7 separate regions of the Homo sapiens genome follow, and all the other regions are linked to region 1. Evidence: promoter capture Hi-C in 16 types of primary human blood cells and fetal thymus (Javierre and others, 2016). All regions are on one chromosome and are shown on one strand. Each heading gives the region's core, a stretch centred on a gene start or on the middle of the fragment in contact. The rest is flanking DNA. Distances are from core to core; before and after follow the strand shown.

What was found. Contacts are between HindIII fragments. The CHiCAGO score rates a contact against its expected background, and 5 or more counts as called.
Region 2: the fragment with the promoter of UBE2V2 here is called in contact with the fragment with the promoter of SNAI2 in region 1 in 2 of 17 cell types (endothelial precursors and total CD8 T cells); the score reaches 6.3 in endothelial precursors.
Region 3: a contact is called between a fragment that was not itself captured here and the fragment with the promoter of SNAI2 in region 1, in 2 of 17 cell types (M2 macrophages and endothelial precursors). The highest score is 7.0, in M2 macrophages.
Region 4: a fragment that was not itself captured here is called in contact with the fragment with the promoter of SNAI2 in region 1 in 1 of 17 cell types (endothelial precursors); the score reaches 6.0 in endothelial precursors.
Region 5: a contact is called between a fragment that was not itself captured here and the fragment with the promoter of SNAI2 in region 1, in 1 of 17 cell types (endothelial precursors). The highest score is 9.1, in endothelial precursors.
Region 6: a fragment that was not itself captured here is called in contact with the fragment with the promoter of SNAI2 in region 1 in 1 of 17 cell types (endothelial precursors); the score reaches 6.1 in endothelial precursors.
Region 7: a contact is called between a fragment that was not itself captured here and the fragment with the promoter of SNAI2 in region 1, in 3 of 17 cell types (endothelial precursors, M1 macrophages and monocytes). The highest score is 11.1, in endothelial precursors.

Annotation. Positions count from the first base shown.
Region 1 is chr8:48,919,775-48,923,726 of GRCh38, reverse strand. It overlaps SNAI2 (snail family transcriptional repressor 2), which reads left to right and starts at 2,298. Exons shown (of 3, transcript NM_003068.5): 1 at 2,298-2,540; 2 at 3,286-3,831. The coding sequence starts at 2,462. LOC107986942 (a long non-coding RNA gene) reads right to left here and starts at 2,170. Exons shown (of 4, transcript XR_001745895.3): 1 at 1,526-2,170; 2 at 963-1,037. RefSeq lists an enhancer at 2,108-2,187. The HindIII fragment of the contact is 2,868 bases long and covers 689-3,556 here.
Region 2 is chr8:48,006,171-48,010,122 of GRCh38, reverse strand. It overlaps UBE2V2 (ubiquitin conjugating enzyme E2 V2), which reads right to left and starts at 1,692. Exons shown (of 4, transcript NM_003350.3): 1 at 1,653-1,692. The coding sequence starts at 1,668. RefSeq lists silencers at 1,297-1,496, 1,727-1,986. The HindIII fragment of the contact is 2,629 bases long and covers 915-3,543 here.
Region 3 is chr8:48,099,985-48,103,936 of GRCh38, reverse strand. LOC107986941 (a long non-coding RNA gene) reads right to left here and starts at 2,690. Exons shown (of 3, transcript XR_007060907.1): 1 at 2,600-2,690; 2 at 2,447-2,488. The HindIII fragment of the contact is 817 bases long and covers 1,442-2,258 here.
Region 4 is chr8:48,139,132-48,143,083 of GRCh38, reverse strand. No RefSeq gene overlaps it. Among named protein-coding and RNA genes, the nearest start is that of UBE2V2, 130 kb to the right of the region's middle. The HindIII fragment of the contact is 4,612 bases long and covers 1-3,952 here.
Region 5 is chr8:48,188,093-48,192,044 of GRCh38, reverse strand. It overlaps the pseudogene LOC100287157. Among named protein-coding and RNA genes, the nearest start is that of UBE2V2, 180 kb to the right of the region's middle. The HindIII fragment of the contact is 6,922 bases long and covers 1-3,952 here.
Region 6 is chr8:48,212,286-48,216,237 of GRCh38, reverse strand. No RefSeq gene overlaps it. Among named protein-coding and RNA genes, the nearest start is that of UBE2V2, 210 kb to the right of the region's middle. The HindIII fragment of the contact is 2,325 bases long and covers 575-2,899 here.
Region 7 is chr8:48,281,563-48,285,514 of GRCh38, reverse strand. No RefSeq gene overlaps it. Among named protein-coding and RNA genes, the nearest start is that of LINC02947, 230 kb to the left of the region's middle. The HindIII fragment of the contact is 770 bases long and covers 1,461-2,230 here.

The DNA.
Region 1 (3,952 bases), core at 1,049-3,548:
GTCTTGTCTTAGCAGAGTCCCAGCAGCTGGCCTTTGGGTGTGGCCTTGACTTCCCGGCTTGCGTTTTTACCACATGGTGCTGGCGCCACATGCCCTCCGCTGTGTCTGAGCAGAGCACCTGTTTCGTCTGACTCACGCCATCAGCGCGCAGACTCGCCCTGCTCTGACAGCGGCCCAGACCTCACACGGGCATACGTGTTACTCGCTAGCACGCGGATCTGTGTAATGACATGCCCCATGCACAGACCCGAGCCCCATCCTCTCCTCACAGTAGGTGTGGCCGCACGTCCTGACGCCGATCTGTGCAGTGCACCCTCGGATACCTGCTGATGGGGCTGGGCTGGATTATGCCTCTGTGATCCAAATGTAAGCTTTTTTCATGCATAGTGAATTATTATTAAACGTTGTAAATGGATTTTTGAATACACATTTTAGTAGATGATCTTGTGTTATAACTACCAGCAAATAAATACCAAAACATTGTCTAACACTCTTCTTTGTTGTGAATAGACTGTGTAGAGTGAAACAAGGAAATAATAGCCATGGCGATATGTGTTTTCTCAACTGTGCTATATCTGTAACAAAAATGTGTGTTTTGTGGGAAATGGAGTGAAAAGCAAGGAGGACTCCTGCTCTCATAAACCCAGGTGCCTACATCCGAACAAACCCTCACATAGAGTAGCAAGCTTAGAAAACTGCCTCTGGCTTTTACTCCAGGTTCCAGTTTGTGTGTGGAGAAATCGAATATGTATTCATATTTTCCTCTCTCCTGCAAGTACAGTTCCATTAGCATAAGGATTCCTTTGAATTATTTTCTCTGTTTGACATTTAAATTAGTGACTGTTGGAAGAAATAAGAATAATCATTGAAATTAGCTTAGGAAATCTGTGAGTGCCCCACCTCACCCTCCAAACACACATACACTCTTGTTTTCTCATTCCAAGATTAAGAAGTTATGCAACCTGACAATGCACTTTTCTCTGACAAGTCTTGACATCACCACTGTTATTTTCTTTTTCACTTTTTTCCTCCAGCACCTGTTAGAAACAAGAGTAGGGTGATCTTCATGTGAATTTGTTCTTTCCTTATTCTTTTAGCAAAAGATAGGGATAAAAGTCTGCAATGGACAGAGATGCTTTAAAATATGCTTGAAATTTTATATTTAAAATAAACCACCTGAAAGTATTTTTAGATTGAAGACCATACACAAAATAAAGGTGTTTTTGCAGTTACTAGACTGGGTTCTTAAAACTTTAATCAATCTATATTCATAATAATATCCTTCAATTTCTTTTTTAGCATTATACAGGAAACTGGTAGATACTGAGATGGATTTTAATGGCTTTATACTGATGAAAATAGCACCACATAAAAGCAGGGGAATATTAGAAATAAAAATAATTGTCTCTAAAGACCCATACAACCCTTTTTCCCATAAAAAAAAAGATGCACTGTAATACATGAAAAGATAAGATCTCTTGTCAAAAGTGTGAGAGAATGTCCGGTGGTTCCAAATGACAGTTACCTCTTGCCCCCCTTCTCTGCCAGAGTTCCTTTTTATCTTTGCAATCTTCCAGTTCTTCCGATCAGCCTGCCTTTAGAGGGCTACAAAGCATTTCTTTCAAGCCACCATAGCTAACACGGTGACATGAGTACTTAATTTGCACGCGGCCGCGCTGCCCCTGGCTTCGCGGAAGCCCTGAGTAGCGCAGCGCCCTCGCCGCACGCAAGGCTGCAGTCCCGCTCCAGGCCAGAGTCCCAGGAGAGCGTCCTCCGCGCTCACAGGCGCCTTTGTCTTCCCGCTTCCCCCTTCCTTTTTCAAAAGCCAAGAGGTAATTATTTGGTCTTTGTGCAAGGCAAACCTCTCCAGATGCCACTTCCAAATATAGGCTCTCATTAACACCAGAGGCTGGCCTGGTGTGGTGCAGGGCGGCCCTTCCTTCTCCTGGCGGACACTGTGTCCCCGCGCGCTGGCGCTGCACCACATCTGGAAGCCAGGCGGGCAGGGCAGAGACCCCGGCTCCTGCGCCCCTCCTAGCTCCCAGAGAGCGTGGATCGCGGGCGGGGCTCACCGAGCGAGGTTACCTCTCTTGAAAATACTTAAACACTTTTTTTCCTCTCCACTGAAATCTCAAAAAACAGCCCATTTTGAACCAGAATAATTTAGTCTGACAACAGATTCTTCCTCTGTTCACAGCTGTCCCAGAGGGAGGAGCTGAAATCTGAACCTCTCAGCTGTGATTGGATCTTTCTTGCAAAAGAGAGGAAAAAAAAACCCTCCCAGCCAAAACGGGCTCAGTTCGTAAAGGAGCCGGGTGACTTCAGAGGCGCCGGCCCGTCCGTCTGCCGCACCTGAGCACGGCCCCTGCCCGAGCCTGGCCCGCCGCGATGCTGTAGGGACCGCCGTGTCCTCCCGCCGGACCGTTATCCGCGCCGGGCGCCCGCCAGACCCGCTGGCAAGATGCCGCGCTCCTTCCTGGTCAAGAAGCATTTCAACGCCTCCAAAAAGCCAAACTACAGCGAACTGGACACACATACAGGTAAAAAGAGAAAAATATATCTAGAACTACGTATCTAGAGCTTTGCAAATATGAATCTACGTATTACCCTTCAAATACCATTACAAAAGAGCCAAAGATTCAACTGTTTTCCTTTTTAACAGTGTCCTGAAAGGGAGCTTACATTCTTTTGATCATTTAGGGTTCGTTTTAATTCAAAACTTTTAAAATTCTTGACTAACAAGGAACATTTCATTCAAATCTCGCAGCTTCGTTTGCTAAAGCCTGTGTATACATGCATAATGAGTATGTGAAAGATGAGCAACATAAGGATTGAATTACTGCGTTTTTCATGCACTAAGTCTCCTTTCCTTTAGAAGGCGGCTTGATGCAGGCATATCTTTGTACTCACGGTCGTAATACACCTAAATAGCCCATACGTAACATGGAAAACAACTTTTCTGTATGTTTAAAAATAATGTTGAGGCTCTCCTTCCTCAATGGGGACGGCGAAGGCACTGGCTTGGCTGCACTGTCTGACTTCAGAGCACCTATAGCTCCGTGCAGCTGTCAGCCTATGTGTGCATTAAGTACAGTAACTCCGTAGGTGCCAGGGTGGAAATGAAACATTTTACCAGTGTGTATGCCCTCCTAAATGGGTCTATCTTCTTCCTAAGAAAATCACGTGTGTGTTGCTAAATATCTTTCCAGTGTGTGTATACTTGCGTGTGGATTTATTTTTAATTATTTTTGCCTTAATCTTCTCTCCCTCCCTTTTCTTTCCCAGTGATTATTTCCCCGTATCTCTATGAGAGTTACTCCATGCCTGTCATACCACAACCAGAGATCCTCAGCTCAGGAGCATACAGCCCCATCACTGTGTGGACTACCGCTGCTCCATTCCACGCCCAGCTACCCAATGGCCTCTCTCCTCTTTCCGGATACTCCTCATCTTTGGGGCGAGTGAGTCCCCCTCCTCCATCTGACACCTCCTCCAAGGACCACAGTGGCTCAGAAAGCCCCATTAGTGATGAAGAGGAAAGACTACAGTCCAAGCTTTCAGACCCCCATGCCATTGAAGCTGAAAAGTTTCAGTGCAATTTATGCAATAAGACCTATTCAACTTTTTCTGGGCTGGCCAAACATAAGCAGCTGCACTGCGATGCCCAGTCTAGAAAATCTTTCAGCTGTAAATACTGTGACAAGGAATATGTGAGCCTGGGCGCCCTGAAGATGCATATTCGGACCCACACATTACCTTGTGTTTGCAAGATCTGCGGCAAGGCGTTTTCCAGACCCTGGTTGCTTCAAGGACACATTAGAACTCACACGGGTAAGAGAAAAACCATAGGCAGGAATGTTACTCTGAGATACAATGAAGCCCTGGGCTGGCTGTTGGATTTGCATGAAGTTGTGACATAGTGCTTTTAATGATGGACAGTCATTGATAGCTA
Region 2 (3,952 bases), core at 443-2,942, 910 kb after region 1:
AACCTTTGGTCTTTTCAAAATATTAACATACACTCATGTATAGTGTTATGAAAAAATTGTGTTTAATAATGCAACCCACAAAAGGAAAATGAAAAGTATTAAATTAAAATGCATTATTTTATTACTAAATTTTCAAAAATCTATAAGAGGTCCTAAGCACAACTGTTATAAAGATATGGCCCCGTTAACGAGCACAGATTAGATTTCAGCAAGCACAGTAAAGTCATAACACTAAAATTCCACTTTTAAAACAATCCTTGCCTTACTAGCTAGCTGACCCAAGTATGTATACTACCCCAACACTAGAACTGCTAAAGATCTTAAAACCTATGACACCTATATGTAATAAAGATGTAAAAGACACCACTTAATTAAAATGTATGCAGAATGTATCCTGAGGTATTACTCTAAAGCAACAATTACAACATATATTCAAAGCCTTCCATTTCAGTACATATAGATTTGAAAATTCATTTTATTATGCAATGATGGCATAAACTATTAAATCACACTGCTCTATACTCTTGTTTCAACGAAGACTAGGAAAAGGCAGATCAGGCCGAGCGCGGTGGCTCACACCTGTAATTCCAGCACTCTGGGAGGCCGAAGTGGGCGGATCACCTGAGGTCAGGAGTTCGAGACCAGTCTGGCCAACATGACAAAACCCCGTCTCTACTAAAAATACAAAAATTAGCCGGGCCTGGTGGCACGCGCCTGTAATCCCAGCTACTTGGGAGGCTGAGGCAGGAGAATCACTTGAACCTGGGAGGTGGAGGTTGCAGTGAGCCGAGATCACACCACTGCATTCCAACTGGGCAACAGGGTGAGCCTCTGACTCAAAAAAAAAAAAAAAAAGAAAAGAAAAGAAAAAGGCAGATCACACGGGTTAACATTTTTAAATGTAAACTAAAGCTTAACGTTTTTAACATTTCTGAAATGGTCTAATGTCTAAAACCTCAACGTTAATACTTGTGTGCTCACAGGAAACCAAACATTGTATTCAGTAGGAAAGAGGAGTTGAACAGCTTATCTAAGAAACCACTTGTTCTTCAATTAGCTTTCATCTTGCTCTGGTCTTTTATTTTGTTTGCACTGCAGTTTTCCTCATAAATAATAAAAAGATCACACGTATTCAGTCAGGTAAGAAAGATCCTCTCGCTCTTATTTTAAGGAGCAATCGTCCTCTACTCCCCAACCCATGTCAAGGAGAGTCCAAAGGAATGGGACCCCTACTCTGATCCAGGACACCTCTTGGCCTGACCCATCTTCGGTGCCGGTTGGCCTGACCCATCTTCGGTGCCGGAGGTTGACACCCGCCCACCTTGGGCCTCCTCGCCTCCCTCCCGTAGAGCCTTCAGCCTACAACTCGGACCCGCGCCCGCCGGAACCTACGGGGGCGCCCGCGCGGGAGCCACCCCGCCCCCAGCCCGCCGGCGCGCGGCCGACGCGCGAGCACGACCCGCCAACCCGACGGCCGCCGGGGCCTCGGCGCCGGTCCCACCCGGTCCCAGGCTACGCTCTGCGGAGAGCGCGGCATTCGAGACAGCGCACTCGGGCTTCTCCCGCACGGTCAGCGCTCGGGCGCCAGCAGCAGACGGAGGGGCAGAGCCGGGTCGGAGCGGAAAATCACGCAGCCCGGCCCGGGAACCGACCTGTGGAGACCGCCATCTTCTCCTGCAGCCCGACGCAGCCGCCCGCACGCACGCACGAACCGTCGCGCGTCACTTCCGGGAGCGCGCCGCCCTGCACGCGTCACAGCGGACTCCGCCCCCGGCGGGCGCGGGGCGACCCGAGGGACAGCGCGCACGTGGGCCGAGGGGTCGCGGGGCCTCGCTGCTGTTTCCGCAATTCCCTTGTGAATCCCGCTCTCAAAATGAAACGCTAAAGAATAAGTTCATGAGGGCCGGGCGCGGTGGCTCACGTCTGTAATCCCAGCACTTTGGGAGGCCGAGGCGATCGGATCACCCGAGGTCAGGAGTTCGAAACCAGCCTGGCCAACATGGCGAAACCCCGTCTCTACTAAAAATACAAAAATTAGCCGGACGTGGTGGCGCGCGCCTGTAATCCCAGCTATTTGGGAGGCTGAGGCACGAGAATCGTTTGAACCGGGGAGGCGGAGGGGCAATGAGCCGCGATTGCGCCACTGCACTCCAGCCTGGACAACAGAGCGAGACTCCGCCTCAAAAAAATAAATAAAAATAAGTGGGCATTGACAGATTTGCGTTGATAAACGATTCAAAAGAGTTGGACAATAAATTTGAACAGCTAGGGATGCTGAGGTGGGAGGGTCACGTGAGCCCAAGAGGTGAGGCTGCAGTGAGCAGAAATCGCTGCACTCCAGCCTGGGCAACAGAGGGAGACTCCATTTCAAAAAAAAAAAAGAAAGAAAGAAAAAGGAAAGTAATACAGGCTGGGCGCCGAAGCTCACTTCTGTAATCCTAACACTTTGGGAGGCTGAGGCAGGAGGATGGCTTGAACCCAAGACTTTGAGACCAGCTTGGACAACATAGTGATACCTAGTCTCTACATAAAACTGAAAAAAAAAAAAAAAAAAGATTTTTCACATCCCTTGTAGGTTGTATTCCTAGGTATTTTTATTCTCTTTGTAGCAATTGTGAATGGGAGTTCACTCATGATTTGGCTCTCTGTTTGTCTGTTATTAGTGTATAGGAATGCTTGTGATTTTTGCACATTGATTTTGTATCCTGAGACTTTGCTGAAGTTGCTTGTCAGCTTAAGAAGATTTGGGGCTGAGACTATGGGGTTTTCTAAATATACAATCATGTCATCTGCAAACAGAGACAATTTGACTTCCTCTTTTCCTAATTGAATACCCTTTATTTCTTTCTCTTGCCTGATTGCCCTGGCCAGAACTTCCAATACTATGTTGAATAGGAGTGGTGAGAGAGGGCATCTTTGTCTTGTGCCGGCTTTCAAAGGGAATGCTTTTGGCCGGGCATGGATCCCAGCACTTTGGGAGGCGGAGGCGGGCGGATCACGAGGTCAGAAGATCAAGACCATCTTGGCTAACACAGTGAAACCCTGTCTCTACTAAAAAAAAAAAAATACAAAAAATTAGCCAGGCATGGTGGCAGGCCCCTGTAGTCCCAGCTACTCGGGAGGCTGAGGCAGGAGAATGGCGTGAACCCGGGAGTTGGAGCTTGCAGTGAACCGAGATGGCGACACTGCACTCCACCCCAGCCTAGGGGACAGAGCGAGACTCCATCTCAAAATAAAAAAAAATAAAAAATAAAAAGAATCCTTCATTCCAGTTTTCGCCCATTCAGTATGATATTGGCTGTGGGTTTGTCGTAAATAGCTCTTATTATTTTGAGATACATTCCATCAATGCCTAGTTTATTGAGAGTTTTTAGCATGAAGGGCTGTTGAATTTTGTCGAAGCCTTTTCTGCATCTATTGAGATAATCATGTGGTTTTTGTCATTGGTTCTGTTTATGTGATGGATTACATTTATTGATTTGCATATGTTGAAGCAGCCTTGCATCCCAGGGATGAAGCCGACTTGATCTTGGTGGATAAGCTTTTTTGATGTGCTGCTGGATTCGGTTTGCCAGTATTTTATTGAGTATTTTCGCATCAATGTTCATCAGGGGTATTGAGCCCACGTAGCCAAGGCAATCGTAAGCAAAAGGAACAAAGCTGGAGGCATCACACTACCTACCTGACTTCAAACTATACTGCGAGGCTACAGTAAAAAAAATTGCCTAGTACTGGTACCAAAACAGATATATAGATCAATGGAACAGAACAGAGGCCTCAGAAATAACTCCACATATCTACAACCATCTGATCTTTGACAAACCTGACAAAAACAAGCAATGGGGAAAGGATTCCTTATTTAATAAATGGTGTTGGGAAAACTGGGTAGCCATATGCAGAAAGCTGGAACTGGATCCCTTCCTTACACCTTATACAAAAATTAACTCAAGAT
Region 3 (3,952 bases), core at 601-3,100, 820 kb after region 1:
AACGGCCTTCAGTGAGTTGATCCATAGTGACACAAAGCAAGGTGCTGTTCTTAAGGTGCTGTTCTTAAGGTGCTATTCGCAAGGTGCTATTCTTAATCCCCGCAAAACATGAAAATAGGCAAAGTCATACAAATCCTGAAATGATTGAAATATGGCTAATATGGCTCCCTAAGAAAACTGCCAACTCTGATAAGTCAAGGAGAAATAGAGATTTAGTTACTGTATCCCCCTTTCCATTCTGCTTTCTCTTTCTTTCCTTTTTTTTTTTTTTTTTTTATTTTGGATGGACTCTTGCTCTGTTGCCCAGGCTGGAGTGCAATGGCACAATCTCGGCTCACTGCAACCTCCATCTCACAGGTTCAAGCAATTCTTCTGCCTCAGCCTCCCGAATAGCTGGGATTACAGGCACCTGCCATTATGCCCGGCTGATTTTTGTATTTTTGTAGAGACAGGGTTTCACCATGTTGGCCAGGCTGGTCTTGAACTCCTGACCTCAGGTGATCTGCCCGCCTCTGCCTCCCAAAGTGCTGGGATTACAGGCATGAGCCACTGTGCCCAGCCTCTTTCCTCTTTTCTCGGAGGTCTCTTTTCCTGCCACAAAAGCCAGAAATTACCAAATAAAAACAAGCCCTTGAAATCATATAAGGCTATTTGCAGGGACTGACTCAAAAAGATGATTCTGATATCTGTCTTCCTAGAACTTTAATTTTTATAGATGCCATATTTATAAACTTCATATTAATCCTAATATCTCTATTCAATTTATCAAATGAATATAGCAAGATATCTAAGCAATTCAATATTTCAAATTTTCTTATAATTTTATCATAGTTCATTAAATGATCTTCGATATATTAAAACAAGATAAACCCTGTAGATATAAAGACTATAGTCAAATCCCTGTTGAGACATAACCAAATAAGGTGGCAAAAGTGATAAAATAATAATTTAGGGCCCTAGAGAAAATATGGGTTCTAATTCAATACTGGAAATACTAGAAATTCAATCAGAAAGCAAACAACAGCCCTCCTGGCATTTGGTTTTCTCAACCAATATTCTGATGTTAACCAACAGTTTTATGTCCCTGGTAACTCTGGTACATTCTCTGTTTGCTTATCTAAGATCAGTCTCTGTTTACAATGGGTTTCCTTTTTTTAAAACTGCCAGGGGCCAGGCACGGTGGCTCATGCCTGTAATCCCAGAACTTTGGGAGGCTGAGGCAGGCAGATCACTTGAGGTCAGGAGTTCTAGACCAGCCTGGACAACACAGTGAAACCCCGTCTCTACTAAAAATATAAAAATTAGCCAGGTGTGGTGGTACGTGCCTGTAATCCCAGCTACTCGGGAGACTGAGGCAGGAGAATCACTTGAAACCAGAAGGTGGAGGTTGCAGTGAGCCAAATGGTGCCACTGCACTCCAGCCTGGGCGGCAGAGCAAGCTTCCATCTCAGTCAATCAATCAATCAGTCAATCAATAAAAATAAAACTGCCAGGATCATTTGAGGAAACTCTATCCATAGTTTCTCTGAACATGGTTGCCACATATTGAAATGGCACATAGCATTTCATAAAAGGAAGTGTGGGCGTGCTCCCCTCGCAGGTTTCTGAACCCTCATCCCTGCCTCCCACAGCCAGGCTGGCTCCACCTCGCCGCATGTCTTCCGCCAACAGACTCAGAACTACAAGGGAAGGGAGTCGTACTCAAGGTAACCTACTTTTTTAAGAGCAACAGAGGAAGACAAAGGGCTTCAGAACTACCTAGGTTTCACTTATGTGTTCACAGCATGATATAAAAAATGAATCTTCAGGAGAATCAAAAGGAAAAGCACCTTCATGCTCTGAGGACATGCATTTGGTTTCTGATGAGTCTCTCTAGAAACCTGTGTTTTTATGCACACACTCCTCTCACCCAAGCTGGACTCCCTCCATGTACACAGCGCTGAATGCTATGGTCGGCTCTGATTTCTGTTGTGTCACATGAAAGGCAATTGCAATAAAACATGTATGCACATTTTTACGTTTATAAAGTGCCTGATACTAAACAAGTCTGGTATTTGCAAAATTTCAGCTTTTATTTAGCAAAACCAAAAGTAAAACAAACAAATGCCCTGTTTCTCTTAGGAACTGCCTACTGGCAAAAACAGCTCTGGTCAAACACAGGAATTTTTGCTCCCAGAAGGCCAAGATAACACATGTGCCTATAAATAGCAAAGAAGCTGTTCTGGAAAGTAATACATGAAAATGGGCTATGTCAAGCTTCTTTCTCTCTGAGTCTTGCATCAGCCCCAGTGAATTTCCTCAAATGGCTGCCTTGCTGAGCCTGCTTATTTTCAAGTCAGTCTGGTCACCTCCAGCTATTGCCTTCACTACCAGGTCAGAAGAAACAGATGGGCTTTTTGCAGGTACTACTTTATCCAGAGCACTGCCAAGTGACACCATTACTCACCCAGATTAGTACTGTTTTTCTCTGAATCATCAAGGCTGTTAACTGTAACAACAGAATAGAAAGCACTATGTTATTCAGGTGTTCTTTATTTAGCTTAAGTTTTAGGTGTCTCCACTACTTCCCAATTCAGCTGGATGGGAATTGACAACTTACTTGATGAGCTGGTATTTCAGAATTCAGTCAGCTCCAGTTTTAGCAATATTCCACTCCTTTCTTTGCATATTGCCAACCAGGAACGTCTGTCCTGGAAAAACCAAGGAGGCAGAGTAAGATGGTAGAACAGATGGCTCCACCAATCTTCCTTCCCCTGCAAGGACACCAGTTTAACAACCATCTACACACACAAAAAAAAAAAAAACCTTCATGAGAACCAAAAATCAGGTGGACACTCACAGTACCGGGTTGTAACTTCATATCACTGAAAGAGGCACTGAGGAGTTAGGAAAAACAGTCCTGAATCACCAATGCCACCCCTCCCCAACCCCTGGCAGTGGCTGCATGGTGCCCAGAGCATCTCTGTGCACTGGGGAGAGGGAGAGCATAGCAATCGTGAGGCCTAAAACTCAATGCTGCCCTGTTATAGCAGAAAAGAAAGCCAGACCAAACTCAGCTGATGCTCACCCAGGAAGGGAGCATTTAAATCAGCCCTGGCCAGAGTGGAGATGCCCATCCCAGCGATCTGAATCTGAGCTGCTACAAGCCTTGCCACCATAAGCTGAAGTGCTCTGGCACCCTACATCAACTAGAAAGGCACTCTAGGTCACAAGGACTGCAACTTCTAGGACAATCCTAGTGCTCAACTGTGCCCAGAGCCAGAGGATTGGGGGGGCACATGACATACTGAGACACCAGCCAGGGCAGCTAAGGGAGTGCTGGCATCACTCCTCCCTTAACCCCAGGCTGCACGGCTCATGGCTCCAAACAAGACCCCTTTCGTTTGCTTGAGGAGAGAAGACAGATGAGTGGGGTGGACTTTGTCTTGTATCTTGGATGTCGGCTCAGCCCTAGCAGGATAGGGCAATGGGCAGAGTCACAAGGCCCCCTTTCCAGGCCCTAGTGCCTAGATGATATTTCTAGACACACCCTGGGCCAAAAGGAAACCTGCTGCCTTGAAGGGAAGGACCCAGTCCTGGCGGATTCATTACCTGCTAACTGAAGAGCCCTTGAGCCCTGAATAACCAGCACCAACACCTAGGTACCACATCAGGGCCTTGGCTGAGACTCTGAGGCTCAGCACATTCCCAGCTGTGGTGGCTATGGGGCAAGACTCCTCCCACTTGAGGAAAGGAGAGGAAAAAGTAAAGGCGATTTTGTCTTGCACCTTAGGTACCAGCTAGGCCACAGGGGAGTAAAGCACCAAGTGGGCTGTTGGGTCCCTGATTCCAGGACTTGGCCAGAGGGGTGCCTGCTGCCCTGATGGGTGAGTCCTCGGCCAGATAGCATTCACCACAAGCTGAATGAAGAGCACTTGGGACTCAACGGAACATTGGCAATAGTCTGGCAGTA
Region 4 (3,952 bases), core at 544-3,043, 780 kb after region 1:
GCAAAGCCAGAGACGGATAGTCCTGGGGCCTTGGCGACATGGTGGTGTCTCAGACAAACAAACCCTGCTCACCTATTTCTAGAATGTCGGCAATAGATCACCAGTTTCCCTACAGTTTAAGTCAACCTGAGTTGGGGTTTATTTTACCCGCATCCAAAAGCATCATGAGGTTGCGCTTCCTTCTCCCACGCCGCATGGCTGGCCTCCTTTCTGTCTGGAGCACGCGCCAAGCCTGCTCCTGCCACAGGGCCTTCGCACTGCTTGTTCCTGCGTGGAGTGCACTGTCCAGAATCTTAGCCAAACTGCTCTTAGTTCAAGCATCACCTGGTCACAGGGACCTCCCTGACCTCCTAGCTAGAGGACCACACTCCCACACCGCTTTTATGCCACACTTTCTGTCTTATTGCCGTCTTTACGCCACAGCATCTATCATTACATTACAAGGTCCTATTTATCTGCATGCTTTTTTTTTTTCTTGAGATGGAATCTCACTCTGTCGCCCAGGATGTAGTGCAATGGCATGATCTTGGCTCACTGCAACCTCCGCCTCCTGGGTTCAAGCGATTCTTCTGCTTCAGCCTCCCGAGTAGCTGGGTTTACAGGCCAGAGCCACCACAGCCAGCTACTTTTTGTATTTTTGGTAGAGACAGGGTTTCACCATGTTGGCCAGGCTGGTCTCAAACTCCTGACCTCAGGTAATCCGCCCGCCTCGGCTTCCTAAAGTGCTGGGATTATAGGCATGAGCCACTGCACCTGGCCTGCACATTTATTTTCTGCCTCCCCTGCTAGAATGTATGCCCGCACGAGGGCAGGGACAAGGGGGCATGTAGATTACAACCTGGTACTTAGTAAGTGTTCAGTAAATATCCTTTAAATAAAATGTGGCAAGAGAACACAGCACATTAGAAGGACTGCAAGTATTTCTGTGTGCAAGGCTAGCAGAGAAGGCAGGAGGGAATGAGAGGTAAATGCCAGATCCTTAAGAACCTTACATTGTATCCTAAGATTAATGGACAGCCACAGATGAACTGTGAGAAGGAGCACTATACACTGCAGCACAGCAGACAGGAGGGGAGAGACCATTCAGAAAACTGTTCCACTCATCTAGGCCAAGAAATGTGACTCAAACCAAAGACAGTGGCTTTGGGATGGAGAATACAGAATGGATTGGGTTCATGAGGCATTAGTAAAGGATTGGCGGCTTGGCCTCCCACTGAGGGCAGTGAGCTAATGAAAGGGAAGCATCAAGAACAACATCCAGGCTTCTGTTTGGACAGTGTGGTGCCAGTCATGGAGCCAGGGCCTGGCGAGGCAGCTGATTCGCATTTGGAGGAAATTAGTCTGACTCTGAATATGTTGATTTTGAGACACTCAGGACATTCCCAGGTAGAGATGCATAGTTACCATCAGAGACACAGGTCTGGAGCATAGAGGAAGGGTCTGTCCTAGAAACAGGGCCTGGAGATTGCAGTTCAGCCTTGAGAGTGTGGGGGTCATGCAGGAAGACCACAGAGAACCTAGAAAAGGAAGAGAAGACACCTGGAGACAAACCCTAAAGAGCACTAACATCTGAGAAGCATGGAGAGAGAAACTGCTAAGAGACTGAGAAAAAGTAGCCCAGATGAAGAAAACACCAGAAGTGCATGATTTTATGAAAGTTAAGAGAATATTGCAAAGAGGAGTGGTCAAGTGATATGAGAACTAAAACATGCTCATTTGACTTGGTAGCCAAGAAGTTTTTGGTAATCTGAGCAAAACCATTTTGGGGACGGTGGGCGCAAAAGCCAGATTGTTGTTGTTTGTGGAGTGAAGAGATGAGTGAGTAGGTATGACTCAGGGAGACCGCATCCTTCCTGGGTGTTCAGCTGTAGCCAGCATTCCCCATCCTTCCAGCTCCGAGGCTTCTTTCCAAAACACCAGGAAGGGAAATAACATTTGCTCTAAAATCGCTGGCACCATGACCATCTTTACTGTATAAATGACAGTGAAGTCACCTACTTTTGGAAGGGCACAACTTCCTTAAAACTGTCACAAAATTAAAATGCAAACAATACAGAAACGCATGATGTACAAGTCCTCTTCCCTCTCTCCCAAATCCTGTCCCTTCCCTCTGGGTAACTGCTGAGGACACTTGGCTGCATGCCCTTCCAGAACTTTTTCTATGTGTTTACATAGATTTCATTCAACAAGCACATTTTGAGTGCCTGTTGTCTGCTAGATCCCTTGTGCATAGAGATTTTTTTCTTGCTGCTTTTGAGATAAACAAGAATTTCACCAAATATATATTGGAGAATAAGTGTATGTATCTATATATCTAACTCGTGTTTTGTAATACCCCATAATATTTCACAAGATCTATATATGTACCAAAAATGTTTACTATTCCCCCCTTAATGGGCACGAAGGTTGCATCCAATTTTCACTATGTAATAATGCAAGATATATGTTATTGTTTATTCATTTTGTGTTTATAGGCAAGTATTCATATAAGACATATTCCAAAAATAGAAATACTGGGTCAAAAATGTGCATTTTTAACTTTTCCAGATCCTGCCAAATTTTGATGGCCATTGCTAAAATGGCACCGAAACAGCTGCACTCGAATGCACTGGGGGGTGAGAGGGCATCTTTTCCTGGGCCCCACCTCCTCAGATACAGTCTCAGCCTCCTGAACGTTGTCCAATCTCACCAATGAACCATGACATCTCACTGATGTTTGTATGTACATTCCCCTCATTTTTAGTGAGGATGAACATCTTTGCAGTATTGATTGGTCATTAGTAGGGTTTTTTTTCTTTTTTCCCTCTTGGGCTTGACTTTACTGCCTCTTCTATCATTTATCTTCTTCTTTCATTGACTGGTGTGCACTCTTCAACTATTACAGCTATGGCCTTTTTTCTGTTACATGTGTGGCAGATATTTTCTCTGGCTCTTTAGCTTGTGTTTAAACTTTGCTTATGGTGTCATTCACTAATCAGAAGTGGTTTGGTTCAAGGAGGGAAAGAGAAGGGAAACTGACATTTACACCAACAATATGCATATGTTGTCTCTTACATATATTTCATTAATACCTATAGCATCTCTATGACATAGGTATTATTATTTCTAATTTTTTTAAAGTAAAAATCTTAGGCATTAAAAGAGGTTACCTGCTCAAGATCACCCAGTGAGTAACTGAAACCTCACCTGGAATTCACATCTATTGGTACAATTCCAAAATCAAGTTTTCCCCCAAAGCATCTTTTCTAGTTTCATTATCTATTTCTGGGTAGATGTTTGAGGGGAATGATTAAATATAGGTTCTTGTAGATTATACCTTTATATAAAAGTGACAGATCCTTACTAAAAATTTAAAAATTAAAAAAAAGAAGTGGCTGGGGTTTCTATTTTGTTTTGGTTTTGTTGGTCAAATCTGTCTATCATTTACTCTATGGTTATTGGATTTTGAGTCTTGCCTAGTAAACCCTTTGTAACCCCAAAGTCATGAAAATATCCCCTTATATTTTCTTATAGCACTTTTTCAAGGTTTAGGTTTTCCATTTTCGGAATGTATTTCCTCTAGAATTTTCTTGTGTATTTGGTGAAAGACAGGACTCTTTTTCCCTCCACTGGGGAGGCAACTTCCCAAAGGCATTTACTAGATAGTTCATCCTTTTTCTACTACTCATTACACACTCTCCCAGGCCCCAACTTCTCTATATCCAAGGACAGGTGATGTGATGTGGTAGCCTTTAGGCCACATCAATTTGAAAATATTTTGGTCAATAGAAAAGTGATCAAAAATATATTTCAGAGTCTTACTGAAAGTCCACCAATGGTTTCCAGTCTTTGTCAACTTCCTTGCAGCCTCAAATCTCTGTCTCCCCACCAGGAAAGGCCACTGCTGGAGGCAGTTGCATTGCCACTGAGGCTGTGCCCTCCACATGGGAGGGGCTGGATGACTGCTGGCATG
Region 5 (3,952 bases), core at 657-3,156, 730 kb after region 1:
TAATGGTATTTCTAAGTTAATTTCTTCTAATCAGAGCTACCAAAATGTACGTGCTTTCAGTAAACTCCTATTTGGTTTTGTTTTTTGATAAATTTTTTAAAAAGAGGTGATTAAGTCATGAGAGTGAAGTCCTCATGAATAGAATTAGTGCTCTTATAAAAAAGGCTTGGGAGGCTGGGCGCAGTGGCTCACGTCTGTAATCCCAGCACTTTGGGAGGCCAAGGTCGGCGGATCACTTGAGGCCAGGAGTTCAAAATCAGCCTGGCCAACGTGGTGAAACCCCGTCTCTACTAAAAATACAAATATTAGTCAGGCATGGTGGTGCGTGGCTGTAGTCCCAGCTACTCAGGAGGCTGAGGCAGGAGAATTGCTTGAACGTGGGAGGCAGAGGTTGCAGTGAGCCGAGATCATACCACATCACTCCAACCTGAGCGACACAGCAAGACTCTGTCTCGAAAAAAAAATACAATATTATTCAGTGATTTTTTTTTTTTTTGAGACAGTCTCATTCTGCCACCTAGGCTGGAGTACAGTGGCACTGCACGATCTCGGCTCATTGCCACCTCTGCCTCCCAGATTCAAATGATCCTCCTGCCTCAGCCTCCCAAGTAGCTGGGATTACAGGTGTGTGCCACTATGCCCAGCTAATTTTTGTGTGTTTTCAGTGGAGACAGGGTTTCACCATGTTGGCCAGGCTGGTCTTGAACTCCTGGCCTCAAGTGATCCGCCCACCTCCGGCTCCCAAAGTGTTGGGGTCACAGGCACAAGCCATTGTGCCTGGCCAGGTGATTTTTAAAAATGAAGTACTGATGCATACCACACTGTGGATGACCCTCAAACACACCGTGCTCCATTAAAGAAGCCAGCCACAAAAGATGTCATAGTATATGATTCTATCTATATGAAATGCCCATTCATAGGCAATTCCACAGAGACAGAAAGTAGACCTACTAATCACCTGCATTATAGTTGAGCTGCTTCCTCCTCTGTGAAACCTTTCCTGACAGAAGCAGGCAGCCTGGCAGGGTCTGGTGGCATCAAATTGTCATTATTGACTAGAAAATAAGTTTCATAAAGGCAAGAATAAGAATTGCCTATTTTGTTCTCTGCTGTACCCTCAACACACCTAGAACAGTGCTTGGTATATAACAGGCAACAGCAAATATGTATTGCATGATTGAAGGACTAAAACTGTTTGCATGCCTCTGCCTTCCCCATCAATAGGCAGTGTCTTTAGGGAAAGAGAAGATTTCGTTCCATTCATATTCACGGCCCAGTACCCAAAGAAATAGCATGCCTGGCACAGAGTACTCAAGTACACAGCCAATAAATATTGGCTGAATGAATGAATGAAAAGGAAATAGGGCTAAAACTAGTTTTGACCCACTACCCTGGAAGAGCGTAGTTCTTCTCCGATCCAGATATTCAGCACTTGCTCCTTGCAGACATCTTCAGACCCAGGCAAGCCTCCTTGAGCTTCTGAGCCCCTGCTTCTGAGAGTGGCTCTTGGACTTTCCTTTCACTCACATGTGGTCTGTCTCAGACATGTTTCCATGTTGAAACGTCACCTAGTATCTCAACAGACCTGAACAATACTACAGATCATGTCATTAGCATATACACTCAGATCCAGTCATACAGATGATAAACGGAAAACAAACCAAGACCAGTTGAAGACCTGGGTGAAGTGGTAGGTCCCAGGGCCCAAACTAGGAGGAATCACTGCATTCATCATGCTTCCAGAGAGCCAGTGCGGGTCCTCAGCCAGAGAGAAGCAAACCTATGTAGCCTTTTATAAAGAGTGCTCAAAAAGTTAGACCCCTGCATAACCTCCCAGCACCTTTCAGGAATTCGTGGAAGAGATGGCCAGCTGATAGGCATTCATTTAAAAGACATAGTTCCTTCCAAAATGTACCATGAGAAAAATAATTTTTAACCCAGTTCAAACGTATATTACCCACTCTAACTAAAAGGCATGTATTAATTTTAATTAAAATAGTATTGAGTGTAACATGTGTTTCGTTGTTCTATTAATGCAAATCTAACAGGACATCCAGACTTTAGCAAGAGACTGCACTTCCATCAGCAAGGAGGTTGATGAATTTCATCAACAGTAAGAAGGAAATAGCAAGAACTTCATCATTATTGCATTGCCTTTTTATAGGGCTACCTCTAAAACTCAAAAACAAACACACTTGCACACACGCCCATATTATGAGCCCTCTATATATACTACAGCCAAAATTCTTGGCTCCCCAAGAGAGCTTTACATGGAATGTAATAAAGAAATACCCAGGAAACTCTATAAGACTTTTGACAAGGCTAATATTGGACAGGAACAAAACAAGACTACTGGCACCATCTCCTCTCAGCTCTTAAGTAAACTTGTCCCATTAAAAAGTAGCCTATGGAAGACTTTTGTCTCCAATGCATATGGTAGCTTATAAGAAGTAGAAGGGCTGCCAAGTTGTAGATGTGTTCAAGCACTCTTTACCCTCATTAAATAGCATTGCCTGGCAACCAAAGACTCCAACTGAACTTTACATGGGAGGATGGTGTTTATGGTGGTGTGAAGTATCGCTTAGAGCCACAGAGCACCCCAGCACCCTGCAGTAGAGCCCACTGTGTGCTGAGCGTCATTTCAGGCAGGACAAACAAGCCAAGCTGAGCTGCTCTAAGGACCCACTATTAAATCAGGAATAGTCCACACCCTGGGGAAGAGTTGAGCCACACTTGGCCACAGAACACAGACACCAAGCTCCATAGGTTAAGGGGAAATGGGGGAAGGGACAGAGCCACAGAGATGCACAGCATTGCATGGTCAGGAGCCAGTCCAGAGGGCCAGGGGTTTCCTGTGCCAAGACATGGTGCTGGGACTCCAAAGGGAAAGAAAAGCAATGCATTCCTGGGACATCCCCCTAGGGTTGCAGTTGAGAAGATTTCACCATGCCTTAGACCTAAGTAGATTTAGTCATTGGAAACTGGTCTTGCTGTATCTAAAATGTGCTTTCAAACCATGTATGGCAGGAGAAATCTGGTAATGTACCTTTATTTCTTGTAATCAAAAATGCCAATCCCTGATCTCTTCACATTCTTCCCGCAGTATTTCATGTCTGATTCCTAAGCCCACTTAGGTCTCATTTAAAGCAATGTTTCCAAAGAGTTTAACTACATGTTGATCTTTTTTATTTTTTCTTTGCAGATAACTATGTGACTTCTTGGTTGTTTTTAAGACTACTGCGCCACTCATTCCTACATTATTGACCTTGTTATCTTCTTTCTTGTTTAAAATATGTATATTACTATGCGTATGGAAGCATTTTCCCCCAGAAAGACAAGGAAAAGAGTGGGAGTAAAATAACTGGACTCTCACATTTCCTGTTGCTACTCAAAATGTGTGCATAGGTCACTTGAACTGGGAAATGGGAAAATCTGCTCACAAGTCCATAAAAAAAAGGGGGCTATAAATTTAGTTCTAGGACCTAAATTCCTTCTTTAAAGGAGTAGCTCATTCTATTATCATCATCTACAATTAACCCAACAGCACAGGTCATTCTATTTCCATTGCCACTAACCCTGCCTGCCACTTTTTTATGCCTCCAGGGCACTGGCCTGGCCACCTCCCAGCCCTGTTGGCAAAATGCCAGAGATTAGGAGCCAGGAAAGAAAAGTTCTGAGTGCAAAGGCCAAGGCTCTGGGTGATGGAATCAGAAAATTACAAGGCTTACAGCTTAAATGGGCTTCTCTTGTGGAAAAATGTGAAACATACAGCTAAAAATTTAACAACAATATAAAACTTTCCATGTTTTTCTTTTTTTTTCTTTTCTTTTTGAGGCAGAGTCTCACTCTTGCCCAGGCTGGAGTGCAGTGATGCCCTCTCGGCTCACTGCAACCTCTGCCCCCCAGATTCAAGCACTTCTCCTGCCTCAGCCTCCTGAGTAGCTGGGATTAC
Region 6 (3,952 bases), core at 488-2,987, 710 kb after region 1:
TACATATCCAGAGGTGGAACTGCTGGACCGTATAGTAATTCTAGATTTAATTCTTTTTAAGAATCACCATACATTGTTTTCCACAGAGGTGGCACATCCCTGCCAACAATGCAGAAATGTGCCAATTTCTCCATATCCTTGCCAATAATTTTCTCGGTTGTCTTTTTCATAGCAATCCTAATGGGTATGAAGTGGTATCTCATGCTTTCAATTTGCATATTTTAATTAGTAATGTTGAGCACCTTTTCATGTACTTATTGGCCATCTGTATATCTTCTTGGGGAAAATATCTATTCAAGTCCTTTGCTCATTTCTGAATTAGGTTTTTTGTTTTTTCTGTCGCTGAGTTTTAGGATTTCTTTATGCATACCAAATATTAATCCCTTACCAGATCAATGATATGCAAATGTTTCTCACATTCTGTATGATGCCTTTTCACTCTGTTGACAGTGTCCTTTGATACACAAAGTTCTTGATTTTGATAAAGTCCAATTTATTTATTTTTTCTTTTGTCAGTAGTAAAACGCTTGTGTCATATCCAAGAAATCATTCCCACATCCTGTGTCATGAAGCTTTTTCTCTATGTTTTCACCTAGGAATTTTATAAGTTTAGGTTTTACATTTAGGTATTTGATCCATTTTTGTAATATAGTATAGAGTAAGAATCAAAATTCATTCATTTGTATGTGGATATTCAGTTTCCGAATGTCATTTATTGAAAAGACTATCCTTTCTCCATTGAATGGTCACTCTTTTCAAAAATCAATTGACCATGTATGCAAAGGTTTATTTCTGGGCACTCTATTCTATTCCATTGGCCTATGTCTGTCTTTATGCTAGAATCAACTGGTTGTTTTTTTGTTTGTTTGTTTTTTGTTTTGGAGATGAAGTCTCATTCTGTCACCCAGGCTGGAGTACAGTCTTGATCTCGACTCATTGTGACCTCCGCCTCCTGGGTTCAAGCGATCCTCCCACCTCAGCATCTCAAGTAGCTGGGATTACAGGCACGTGCCATCACGCCCAGCTAATTTTTGTATTTTTGGTAAAGATAGCATTTTATCATGTTGGCCAGGCTAATCTCAAACTCCTGGCCTCAAGCAATCCACCCAACTTTGCCTCCCAAAGTGCTGGGATTACAGGTGTGAGCCACCGCACCTGGCCAGAACCACTGTTTTGATTACTGAAACTTTACAGCAAGTTTTGAAATCAGGAAGTTAGTGTCCTCCAACTTTGTTCTTTTTCAATACTGTTTCCACTATTTGGGACCCTTAATATTACACATGAATTTTGGGATGAATTTTTACATTTTGGCAAAAAACTCATTGGAACTTTGATAGGAATTGCATTGATTCTGTGGATTGCTTTGAGTAGAACTGACATCTTAACAATATTAAGTCTTCCTATCAATGAACCTGGGATGTCTTTCCATTTTTTATACTTTATTTAATTTCATTCAGCGATGCTTCGTAGTTTTCCATGTACAATTATTTAGCCTCCTGTTTTCTAAATTCCCACTTCAGATTTTTCATTGTCACTATAGAGAAATGCAACTGCTTTTTGCATGTTGAGTTTGTATCCAGCCTCTGAATTCATTTATTAGTTCTAACAGTTTGCTTTGGTTTATCTTTGTTTGTTGTTGTGGGGCCAGGGGGGAGTTGGTGCAGAATTGCTACAATTTTCTAAATATAGGATTGTGTCATCTGCAAACAGAAATAATTTTACTTATTCCTTTCTAATTTGTATGCCTCTTATTTCTTTTTCTTGCCTAATTGCTTCAGCTAGAATTTCCAATATTATGTTGAACACAAGTAACAAAAGCAGGCACCCTTGTCTTATTTCTGATCTTAGGGGAATTGCTTTTAGTCTTTTGAGTATAGTATAGCTATTGAGTATAGTGATAGCTGTGGATTTCTCATATAAGAGCTTTATTATATTGAGGTAGTTTCTATTCCCAGTTTGCTGGGCGTTCTTATCATGAAAAGGTATTGGATTTTCTCAAATACTTTTTCTGCATCAGTTGAGATGATCATGGATTTTCCCTTTATTGTGTTAATGTGGTATATTGCATTGATTTTTATGTGTAGAACCATCCTTGTATTCCAAGAATCAATCTCATTTGGTCATGATGTATAATCCTTTCAATATGTTGCTGAATCCAGTTTGCTAATTTTTTTGAGGATTTTTGTATTGGTATTCATAAAGGATATTGGTCTATGGTTTTCTTGTACTGTCTTTGTCTGGCTTTGGTGTCAATATAGTGCTGGCCTCATAGAATGAGTCAGGAAGTGTTCCCTTCTCTTCATTTTTTTTGGAAGCATTTGATAAATATTGGTGCTAGTTCTTTAAGTGTTTGGTAGAACTCATCAATTAAGATATCTGTATTCATCCATTTGTGCTGCTATAGCAAAATATCTGAAACTGGGTCATTTATACAGAAGATAAATTTATTTCTCACAGTTTTGGAGACTAGGAAGTTCAAATTCAAGGTGCCAGCAAGTCTGGTGTCTGGTGAGGGTCCAGTCTCTGCTTCCAAGATGGTGTTTTGAATGCTGCATCCTCAAGAAGGGAGGAAACTTGTGTATCTTTATATGACAGAAGGCAAAAGGGCCAAAAGAGATTAACTCCCTCCATCAAGGCCCTTTATAATAGCATTAATCTATTCATGAGGGCAGAACCATCATGACTGAAACATATCACAAAAGGCCCCACCTCCCAACACTGTGGCACTGGGAATTAAGTTTCCAATACATGAATTTGGGGGGGGATACATTTATACCATACCAACATCTGATCCTGGACTTTTATTTGTTGGAAGATTTTTGATTACTGATTAAATCTTCTTGCTAATTATAGGTCTACTCAAATTTTCTGTTTATTAGTGATTCAGTCTTAGTAAGCTTTGTGTATCTAGAAATTTGTCTATTTCATTTAGGTTACCAAATTTGTTGTCATACAATTGTTTATAATACTTCTTAATAATCCTTCTTATTTCTGTAAATCAGTTGTAATGTCCTCTCTTTCATTTCTAGTTTTGGTTATTTAAGTCTTCTTTTTTTCTTAGTCAGTATTGCTAAAGGTTTATCAATTTTCTTGATCTTTTTAAGAACTAAATTACTTTGGTTTCATTAATTTTCTCTATTGTTTTTCTATTCTTTGTTTTATTTCTCTCTGCTCTAATCTTTCTTTTTCCCTAGTTATGCTAGTTTTAGACTTAGTTTGTTCTTCTTTTTCTAGTTCCTTAAGGTATAAATGTAAGTTGTTAATTTGATCATTTTTTAAAATTATTTTTTCTTTGTCTTTGAAGGATTGGGTTAATTTGAAAGCCTTGTCTTTGAGCTCTGTAATTCTTTCTTCTGCTTGTTTGATTCTATTGCTGAAACTCTCCAGTGCGTTTTGCATTTCTCTAAGTGTGTCCTTGATTTCCAGAAGTTATGATTGTTTTTATCTATGCTATCCATTTCTCTGAAGATTTTTCCTTTCATATCCTGTATCATGTTTTTTATTTCTTTAAGTTGGAGTTCACCTTTCTCTGGTCCTCCCTGATTAGCCTTAATAATCGGCCTTCTGAATTTGTTTTCTGGTAATTCAGAGATTTCATCTTGGTTCGGATCCACTGCTGGTAAGCTGATGTGACCTTTTGAGGGTACTAAAGAACTTTGTTTTGTCATATTACCAGAATTGTTTTTCTGGTTCCTTCTCATTCTGGTAGACTATGTCAGAGGGAAGATCTGGGACTCAAGGACTGCTGTTCGGATTCTTTTGTCCCACAGGGTGCTCCCATAATGTGTTCTCCCTCTTCCCCTAAGGATAGGGCTTCCTGAGAGCTGGAATGCAGTGATGGTTTTTGCTCTTCTGGGTCTAGCCAGCCAGCAGAGCTACTGGGCTCCAGGCTGGTACTGGGGAGTGTCTGCAAAGAGTCCTGTGATGTGATCTGTGTTCAGATCTCTCAGCT
Region 7 (3,952 bases), core at 596-3,095, 640 kb after region 1:
CAGATGGTTGTAGGTGTGCGGCCTTATTTCTGGACTCTCTATTCTGTTACATTGGTCTATGTGTCTATTTTTGTACAAGTGTCATGCTGTTTTGGTTATTGTAGCCTTAAAGTACAGTTTGAAGTCAGGCAACATGACTTCTCCAGGTTTGTTCTTTTTGCTTAAGATTGCCTTGGCTATTCGGGCTCCTTCTTTGGTTCCATATGAATTTTAAAATGGTTTTTTCTGTTCTATGAAGAATGTCTTTGGCAGTTTGATAGGAATACCATTGAATGTAAATTGCTGTGGGCAGTATGGCCATTTTCACAATACTGATTCTCCCTGCCCATGACCATGGAGTGTTTTTCCATTTGTTTGTGCCATCTCTGATTTCTTTGAGCAGTGTTTTATAATTCCCATTGTAGAGATCTCTCCCCTCCCTGGATACCTGTATTCCTAGGTGTTTTGTTCTTTTTGTGGCAATTGTGAATGGGATTGCATGCCTGATTTGGCTCTCAGCATGACTGTTGTTGGTGTATAGAAATGTTAGTGATTTTTGAACATTGATTTTGTATCCTGAAACTTTGTTGAAGTTGGTTATCAGCTCAAGGAGCTTTTAGGCAGAGACTATGGGGTTTTCTGGATATAGAATCATGTTGTCTGCAACAAGGGATAGTTTGACTACCTCTCTTCCTATGTGGATGCTGTTTATTTCTTTCTCTTGCCTGATTGCTCTGGCAAGGACTTCCATTACTATGCTGAATAGAAGTGGTAAGAGAGGGCATTCTTGTCTCATTCTGATTTTCAAGGGGAATGCTTCCAAAATAAAGCTGTTTTTTGAAAGCAAGCATTAAAATATCCTAAAAATGAAAAAAAGAAGAAATGAAGAATGAAAGAAAGAAAAAGAAAGAAAGAAAGAAAGAAAGAAAGAGGGAGGGAGGGAGAGAGGGAAGGAAGGAAGGAAGGAAGAAAGAAAGGAAGGAAAGAAAGAAAGTCAAACAAGTGTTTCCTCCCTCTCTATTCAAAGGCACAGCCACCCTACACCTAGCTATACTGCACTGTACTGTACTGTACTGTACCACACTGTACTATGCTGGACTACATTGTACTATACTACACTTACTATACTGTACTATGCCACACGAGACTGTGCTATACTATGCTGACCTGCACTGTACCATACTAACCCTGCCATACAGTACTGTGCTATGCTGTAGCATACTGTGTTGTCCTGCACTGTGTCATACAGTGCTGACTGTGTCATACAGCACTCTGTCATACGGCACTGTGTCATACAGCACTGTGCCATACATCACTCTGTCATACAGCACTGTGTCACACTGCACTGTGCCATACAGCACTGAGTCACACTGTACTGTGGCATACTGCACTGTGCTATTCAACAGTAGACTATGCTGTCTGCATTAGGCCATACTGCACCATGCCATACTCTATTCTACTCCACTATCGACAGCAAAGCTTACCACAGCACAGTGGAGACTAAGCAGAACATGCCACACTTTGCATTCATCATTTACTTCATGAACTTAGCACTTGCTTGACACCTTGTGCTCTGCTGGCACTGGGATGTCTAGGAGAACCCGTGTGGCCCACTCACTCCATGAGCTCACAGGTTCAGCTGCTAACTGGCCCACCCCTACCTTACGACTGAGTCAAAACCACAAATCAGACTCTGCCAACCCTACAACGTGGAACTAAGTCTTTGACCTAAACTTATATTGTAGTAAATTTCTGTATCTCCACAATAGGCTTCCATCCTTCTCCCTCAAACCCATTCCCTCCTGCTTCTTCTTCCAGCAGGGCAAGGAAGAGGCAGTGGCGCTGCGGAAGGTGTGCAGAGCGCCTTTCAGCCCCAGCACGGCGACCTTGCCTGTTGTCTGTGGAGTAGGATGTGGGGAATCCAGAGGGCTTGGTGAAAGGAACTCAGGGCAGGAGCGCTGCTCCCTCACTGTGAGCTCCTGGACCAGAAGACAGGAGCGTTGCATTACCATCTCTCCCCGAATTTAGGAAATGCCCCTTTCCCCGCAACGGCATCTCCAATTTATTATCCAAACAATAAATGAGATGGATTCGGTGGTTTCTGAGGCTCATAGCAGCCCCTGAGTGGCCATCTCCTTGCACAGCCCTTTCAGAGGACAATGCTGTCCTTCCCCTACACCACCCCAGTCACCAGGCCTCTCTAGCTTTGCACCAATAAATAATTAAGAGGAAACAATTCGCCCTGCAAGCTTGTCATGTGAACTTCTCCACAGACTCCAGGCAATGTGGGAGCAGACAGTGCATGTGAGGGGCCCGGGCCCGGGCCTGTCCCTATACCACAGCAGGCAACACTGCCAAAGGCCTGTGAAGGCAGCTAGATGGTCAGCCTCTGCTAGAAGCTGCCCTCCTCCCCTAGTCAGCACAGGCTTACTCCCTCCACTCTCTCCACCCACCCCTCCTCCAAACATCTTTCTTAAACAGCAATGTGACACCTACACCCCAGGATTAATGAGCTGAAGATTAAGGTGGCTCCACTCTAAATAAATGTTTATTTTAACCAAGGAGTGAACCAAAAGAATGATGTCTAAGAAATGAATGTCTAATGGCAAAATTTCAGATATCTACTCTCTGGCTGGAGGAGGACACACAGTCATCCTGAAACACCTAAAATCCCATCAGGTAGCTGCGAGCTGATCTGAATCTTCAGCCAGAGCTGTATGAGACTGGACCTGGAACTGCAGTCTGTCTCTGGGAATCCTGACTCTCAGTGTAATGAGCGCTACTCCAGTGCCATGATCAATCAGGCTGTGCCCATCAACACCTCCGAACATGTTCCCGCAGTGTCACACCGCACCGCACAGTGACCATTGTTTACCCCTCCCTCCTCACTGTCTCTGTCCCTCTACCTTTGCCTCTGGGGAGCCCAGTGCAGGATGGGGCTCAAAGCAGACACCCCATGAGCGTCTGGTCCACAGAGAACTGGGGGTATGGGTGGGTATGGAAGAGAAGTCCAGGAGTGGGAAGCATGAGTGGTAGCCAAGCAAAAGTGGGTGTGAGTCACGTGCTGGTTCTCAGCTGCTCACATCGGGAGGCACCTGAGGTCAAGTCACCTGGAGCACAAAGGCAGGAGAGCCAGAGCACATGTCGCAGTCATAACCAAAGCTCCAGGCCCGGATGTTCAGGACGCCGTCAAAGGACACAGCCTTCACCGCGTTTAGAGTGAGGAGAGAGCACACCCCTCACCCTCTTCGCCCGCCTTCCCAGGCATCCGCCCACTGCTGTTCACTTACTCTACTTACATAGGAAGTCCCTGCCTTCGACCCAGAGCTCTGGGATCAAATCCAAGAGAGGGTGGCCTTTTCTCATAGGTGGTAGAAGGGGAAGGTGGCGGTGAACTTCCTCTGGGTGCTCACAGGCGAGAACGATGCACAGCGGGTGCTTTGCTAGCAGGCAAGGCCACCCAGGACCGGTCTGTGCAGGAAGGATTGTGCCCTCATGGACTTGGGTGCTGCTGGGGGTGGTAAGGGGGGAAATGATGCAGGGGAAAATGATGTCAGGGGAATTCCTGAGATTATTATAACCCCAGGTTGTAAAATATCTGCTAAGGTCAATAACATGTCACATCCACTCCTTGATATTCCTGTAGAGATCCTGCACAGAAAAGTGGTCCCAGTTTCATAAACGAGACGCTATTTATACACAAAGCTATTGTGTCAGCTCCATTCTCTTCCTACTCCTTCTGGGGAGAGAAAGAACTTTCTGCTGTGATTTCCAAAGGATGCTGTGTTGCACTCCACAGATCTTTTGTGTAGCAATCCAGGAAATTAGAGCAAGGAAGTGGCTGAGCTCATCATAGTGTGTCATGATGAAAGAGATGACCATTTGCTATTGCCCTGTTTGACAGAAGGAAATAATTAGCCCCAGAACTCACTCTGATTTGTAGAAGAAATAACATCCACCCAGAGTGTGGAAT